2 separate regions of the Homo sapiens genome follow, and region 2 is linked to region 1. The links are contacts of gene promoters, found by promoter capture Hi-C in blood cells and fetal thymus (Javierre and others, 2016). All regions are on one chromosome and are shown on one strand. Each heading gives the region's core, a stretch centred on a gene start or on the middle of the fragment in contact. The rest is flanking DNA. Distances are from core to core; before and after follow the strand shown. Region 1 holds the start of LILRA2 (leukocyte immunoglobulin like receptor A2). Region 2 holds the start of CEACAM18 (CEA cell adhesion molecule 18).

What was found. The method cuts DNA at HindIII sites, captures the fragments that hold promoters and counts their contacts. A CHiCAGO score of 5 or more calls a contact.
Region 2: the fragment with the promoter of CEACAM18 here is called in contact with the fragment with the promoter of LILRA2 in region 1 in 2 of 17 cell types (total CD4 T cells and naive CD8 T cells); the score reaches 8.6 in total CD4 T cells.

What each region holds. Positions count from the first base shown.
Region 1 is chr19:54,571,975-54,575,111 of GRCh38, forward strand. LILRA2 (leukocyte immunoglobulin like receptor A2) reads left to right here and starts at 1,816. Exons shown (of 8, transcript NM_001130917.3): 1 at 1,816-1,938; 2 at 2,102-2,137; 3 at 2,327-2,608; 4 at 2,757-3,059. The coding sequence starts at 1,905. LOC107985347 (a long non-coding RNA gene) reads right to left here and starts at 854. Exons shown (of 2, transcript XR_002958419.2): 1 at 762-854. The HindIII fragment of the contact is 11,294 bases long and covers 1-3,137 here.
Region 2 is chr19:51,477,289-51,480,594 of GRCh38, forward strand. CEACAM18 (CEA cell adhesion molecule 18) reads left to right here and starts at 1,251. Exons shown (of 6, transcript NM_001405061.1): 1 at 1,251-1,406; 2 at 3,045-3,306. The coding sequence starts at 1,355. The HindIII fragment of the contact is 9,749 bases long and covers 1-3,306 here.

The DNA of each region.
Region 1 (3,137 bases), core at 566-3,065:
TGCTCCTCCCCACTCCCCCAAACTCAGTGTCAGCTCAAGATTGTGCCCAGCAGGGATGGGACCAACGCCAGTCTCACACTCACCTGTGGGGCAGAGCAGACGCCCATGTCAGACCACCGTGGATTGAATCTGTTTCTCACACACAGGGGAGGGGCTGAGCACTGACCATGGCCTCCAGTGAGTGAGCAGAGACCCCCCAGCGCCTGTCCACACACACAGGGGAGGGGGAGCCACAGCTTCCAGCGTCACCCAGAGCCCTGACCCCTCCCTGCCTGGGAGGACGTGGGGTTCCTCTTCTGTCCCACACGGAGGTGGGAGCCTCCTCCTCCCTAATGACCCTGGGTGGTCCCAGACACCTGTGGCCACTCAGCATTGAACTCTGCTCATGGAAGGGGATGCGTCTCAATGTGAGGAACTGTTCTTCCTCTTTCTGTGCCCGTGGCTGTGATGATCTGCATATTTCAGATGTATCACAAGGAGAATTTCATGGTATTTGGAGCCGATGTGGGCTCTTGAGTGGGGGCGTCAATCATCCTCCTGGACTGTGGAGCCCAGCACCAGGATCCTCTCCCGTCCCCACCCTCCTGTCTGAACTGGTCTGGAAATTCACCATGGCTGAGCCTCCCATGTCCTGGGCACCACTGACCCCCACAGCCACTGTGATGAGTGGGGTTCACGACAGCAGGCTCAGAGGTGACATTCATGTCCAAAGTCACATAAACCCTGGATGATAATCAGGAATTAAATACAAATCAGCTCACCTTCCCCAGAATCAGATTACAGACCTAACAAATTCTTCTGAAAACTCTGAACATGGACGGAGGTGCCGAGGGAAGGCCAAGGACGCAAGGGACACTGAGGGGGCGGGACCGACTCAGAGCCTCATTCCCGGGGTGGGGGTGGGTGATGTTGCAACAAAGAGAAAAGGGGAAGTACAGGAGAGGGACGGTTTGGTAGGAAGGAAACACACACTCTCAAGACAGAACAAATATGTTTTATTATAGTTAATCCCTGCATTTCCCCTTTTGAGACAGGGTCTCACTCTGTCACTGAGGCTGGAATGCTAAGGGGTGATCATAGCTCCCTGCAGCCTCCGCCTCCCAGGCCGAAGTATTCCTCCCACCTCAGCCTCCTGAGTAGCTGGGACTAGAGATGTGAGCTGCCATGCCTGGCTAATTTTTTGCTTTTTTTATACAGACAAGGTCTTGCTATGTGGCCCAGGGTAATCTGAAGCTCCTGGCCTCTAGCCTTCACCCACCTCAGCCTCCTGAAGTGCTGGGATTCCAGGCATGAGCCACCATGGTAGACCCTGCATTACTCCTCTGTGCTCACTGCCACACGCAGCTCAACCTGAGCTACACAGCCAGGTGTCAGGTGCGTCTCTGCTGATCTGAGTCTAACTGCAGCATGGACCTGGGTTTTCCCTGAAGCATCTCCAGGGCTGGAGGGACGACCGCCATGGTAAGGACCCCGCAACGCTGAGCTGATGGACGGGCTGAAGGAGGGAGGGAGACCCCATGGGGAAGCTCTGAGAAGGAAGAGGAAGCCTCTGCTCACCCTCATCTGGAAGGGCAGACGCAGGAGGGCACCAGTTCTATTTGCTGCTACATCCCAGGTCTCAAGGAGATGAGGATAAACCAGACAGACAGTGGCTGGGGGGCAGGAAAGACCCCATTACAGTCTGAAATGTCTGCAGAGGGCCTGGTGCCTGCCCCCACCTCAGCCCTAAAGGTATGACAGCCAGGCTCCTGAGAGGGCAGTTGCACTTCCTGTGTGGTTGCACATAACAAAACCCCATGACAAGAAGGATCCAGCCTCCGAGTGTCCACACCCTGTGCGTCTCTCTGTCCTGCCAGCACTGAGGGCTCATCCATCCGCAGAGCAGGGCAGTGGGAGGAGACGCCATGACCCCCATCCTCACGGTCCTGATCTGTCTCGGTGAGATTTGAAGAGGGAGGGGAGCTTCTAACCTAGGAGGGACCTCACCCCACAGCCAAACTCTGGTCCCTAAGGAGACCCCAGGGGCTCACAAAGATCCCAGGGAGGGGAGGACCTGCCCAGGCTTCAGGGGAAAAATCCCTCACAGGGAACTCTCTTCCAGGGCTGAGTCTGGGCCCCAGGACCCACGTGCAGGCAGGTGAGTCTGTTCCCAGCTGTCCCAGGTCCCTCCTCCTCACTAGGGACAAGGGGCCACCCCCGTGCAGCTGGGGATGGGGAATAGCAGTTCTGGGCTGACTGATGGGGGTGTCTGGAGGGTCCTGCAGCTGAGAGCTGAGATCTGTTGGGTGGGAAATGACTTAGAATCCGACCTCTGATTTCCTTCCAGGGCACCTCCCCAAGCCCACCCTCTGGGCTGAGCCAGGCTCTGTGATCATCCAGGGAAGTCCTGTGACCCTCAGGTGTCAGGGGAGCCTTCAGGCTGAGGAGTACCATCTATATAGGGAAAACAAATCAGCATCCTGGGTTAGACGGATACAAGAGCCTGGGAAGAATGGCCAGTTCCCCATCCCATCCATCACCTGGGAACACGCAGGGCGGTATCACTGTCAGTACTACAGCCACAATCACTCATCAGAGTACAGTGACCCCCTGGAGCTGGTGGTGACAGGTGAGAGGACACTCAGGAGTCCCAGCCCCAGGCTCTGCCCTCAGGAAGGGGGTCGGCTCTCAGGGGCATCTCCGCTCTCACAGCTCAACCCTGGGGATGATGTGGGAGGTGGGAGCCCCATTTAACACAGTGCCTCCTTCTCTCCTAGGAGCCTACAGCAAACCCACCCTCTCAGCTCTGCCCAGCCCTGTGGTGACCTCAGGAGGGAACGTGACCCTCCAGTGTGTCTCACAGGTGGCATTTGACGGCTTCATTCTGTGTAAGGAAGGAGAAGATGAACACCCACAACGCCTGAACTCCCATTCCCATGCCCGTGGGTGGTCCTGGGCCATCTTCTCCGTGGGCCCCGTGAGCCCGAGTCGCAGGTGGTCGTACAGGTGCTATGCTTATGACTCGAACTCTCCCTATGTGTGGTCTCTACCCAGTGATCTCCTGGAGCTCCTGGTCCCAGGTGAGAAATTCACAGAATTGCTTGGAGTTCCCTGAGTCTCCCTGAGTCTCCAGGCAGGTGGGGAGCAGCCGCGTCTCA
Region 2 (3,306 bases), core at 1-2,500, 3.1 Mb before region 1:
ATCCCTGTTTTTAGAAACAGCCTGACCCTCCAACAACAAAGTGTCAACCTAAATAACAAACAGAGAGAAGCTCTCTAAAAGAAAATGATATGTATTCAGGAATGGGGCATTGCAATGGGAATCTGGGTGCTATAGTAAACTACGTGCATATTCAGGGAGGTAAAAGAACACAAAGGGTTTTCAATGGAAAAATGAGGAGGACCCCATAAATGGTTTGAGATAATTACCCTAGGCTACAAGGATCCCTAATGAGGGTGACGTCAGTCCAAGTTTGGACCGGAGGTTGCTGTCCAAATACTTGTCACAGAAGTATTTTTTTGGTGGAAGGAAGCAATGGCTTTTGTGCAAGACTATGGTTTCTGCAGCGTCTTCTGTGAAAATTTTTGTTGTCAGAGAGCCCTCGCTTCACAGCCTTCCCCACTGTATTTCTCAGGGATTTTTTTGGCTTGTGAGCACTTTCACAAAGGGATCTGGTTATACACACACTGGTTCAGGTCTAGAAGAGCATTCCCTGCAGCCATTCACAATGGTCATGGGAGGAATATTTAGTGACATAGAGAAATAGTCCACTGTTGAGGAGGAAAGCAGCCAGTTGTAAAACAGCCCCAGGCAGTCTAAAAGTTGGGCCCTACACCGGGCACGGTGGCTCACACCTGTAATCTCAGCACTTTGGGAGGCCGAGGTGGGCGGATAACGAGGTCAAGAGATCAAGACCATCCTGGCCAGCATGATGTAACCCCGTCTCTACTAAAAACACAAAAATTAGCTGGGTGTGGTGGCACGAGCCTGTAGTCCCAGCTACTCGGGAGGCTGAGGCAGGTGAATCACTTGGACCCGGAAGACGAGGTTGCGGTGAGCCAAGATCATGCCATTGCACTCCAGCCTGGTGACAGAGCGAGACTCCGTGAAAAAAAAAAAAAAAAAAAAAAAGCTGGGCCCTGCATAGGAAAACCAAACCAAATGGAAACAGGACATACAGTTGAGGAGTTTGATGTCCTATCTTTGAGGCACTTGGCTGTATTTTCTGGTTTTCTTTGTTTTCCCAACAGTGAGCCTGTGTTTTTCCGTTTTTTCATGACCAGAGAAAAAAATGTAAATTATTATAAAAATAAGTAAATAAATAATGAACTAAAGGCAACATAAAGCCATAAAGATAAGGTTGGGCTCTCAAGAGCCGTCTTCCCCAGGCCCCACCCCTGCTGGTCAGAGTGCACCCTGGGGAGGAAAGGCCGCCCTGAAGGCTGGGAGACGAGACCGGCAGCCTCTGTGCCAGGAGACACAGGTCTTGGAGGGAGCAGAGGAGGTGGCTGTGTCTCTGGAGGGACCCCTCCTCCTGGAGGACCCCAGGCAGCTCATGGACCTTTCCAGACCCAGATGGAGCCTGTGGAGGAGGGTCTTCCTCATGGGTAAGAGATGCTGGATGCTGGATGAGCTTCCCAGGACTGAGGGAAGGGCAGCTAGGAGCAAAGCGGCGGGGAGGGGGCTGGGACCATCCCCATCCACGGGCACATCAAGAAACTCCCAGAGCAGGGGTCGGGGAGAGGAGAAGGGGGAGGACCCTCAGCACAACTTTCATGAGCTCACACACGTGGGCACACTTTGCCCCTAGACACACCCCTGCACAGACCCACACATGTGGTGTTACACACACACGCACACGCACATGCACACACACACACGCGCGCACACACAGAGAGAGAGAGAGAGAAACTGTGTTTCTATCTACGCCCAGGAATCAGGAGCTTGGACCTTCACCCTCACCTCCCTGCACTCACCTCCCACTGGGTGCCCCAATCTGCCCCATCCCCTCCCCCACCTCTCAGGCCAGATTCCTTCCCAGCCCCTCACCTTTGCCCAGGACCTTCTGTGCCCCCTACAAGCACAACTGTCCTGCTTTACCACGTGTACTGTCCTTGAACAGGTCCAGTGTGTCCATACGTGAGGCCTAGAGCCGGGGTCTCAGGCATCTCTGCCTCCTCCACATAGCCCAGGCTTGGGGTTCACAGGGCAGTGGACAACTGCCCATGTCATATGTGGTAACAGGCTGCCGCCTCCATTCACACCCACTCCAGTGAATTTAGATGCAAAATCAAAGACATGTAGAAATTCTCGGGGGAGTATTTCTCACCCAGACAATCATTACTGAACTCCCCCTGTGTCCAGCCTGTGCTCAGGGGCGCTGGGGACTCAGTGGTGACTGAGACAGGGCAGTCCTGCCCTCCTGGAGCCCACAGTCCAGGGCGAGATATAGATATGTGCCCAGACTCTGAGGACCCCCAGAGGTCATGGCTGGGATGGGGGGAGCCCAGGAGGAGCTGGGGGAGCCCAGAGGGGACACCTGACCCAGGCTGGGGTGGAGGAGACATCCAAGCTGAGACCTGAGTGATGAATAGAAGTGAGTCAGCAAGGAGGGTGCAGATGGAGAGGAGGGAGAAGGAGTCCCTGCCGGGAATGGGGAACAGCGTGTGCGAAGCCTGGAGTTAGGAGAAGGTGTGGTGCACCAAGAGAGCTATGTAGAGGCCTGGGGCATACAGCGTGGCAGTCATGTCTTCTGATAAATAACTACAGGAATAAATGAGTAAAAGGTGCATAGTGGGGACAGGATGGGGTAGGTGTGCACCACAAGGAGGCTCGATGAGTCACAAACACCAGCTCTGGCTGAGAGTGTTTCATATACCCACCTAAGAGTTTGGACTGTATCCTAAGAGCACTGGGGAGCCATGGAAGGTGTTTGAGCAGAGGAGAACAGGGTCGCAACTTGGGCTTATTAACATTTACGTAACTGTGATGTGAGGATGGATTGGAGGCTGTGTGGCTAGCGAGGAGGGCCTGGGAGAAGATAAGGGTAAAATGGACCACGGCAGGGGCTGAGGGGAGGCACAGGAGGGGACAAGCTGGGGACTCTACCAGGAGCCAGAAACTCTTGCCTGGTTCACCAGCGTCTCTGGGAATCGTTCCCGGATGGTGTCTTTTTTCCTTGTCTTCTCAGCCAGTCTGAATCTCTTTGTGAATTTCTCTCTGTCTTTTTTCCTTGTCTTCTTCAGCCAGTCTGCTGGCCTGTGGGATCTGCCAGGCCTCTGGCCAAATCTTCATCACCCAAACCCTGGGGATCAAGGGATATCGGACTGTCGTGGCCCTGGATAAGGTCCCTGAGGATGTTCAGGAATACAGCTGGTACTGGGGTGCAAACGACAGCGCAGGAAACATGATTATCAGCCACAAACCGCCCAGTGCCCAGCAGCCTGGGCCCATGTACACTGGCAGGGAGAGAGTGAACAGAGAAGGCAGCCTGTTGATCAGGCCGAC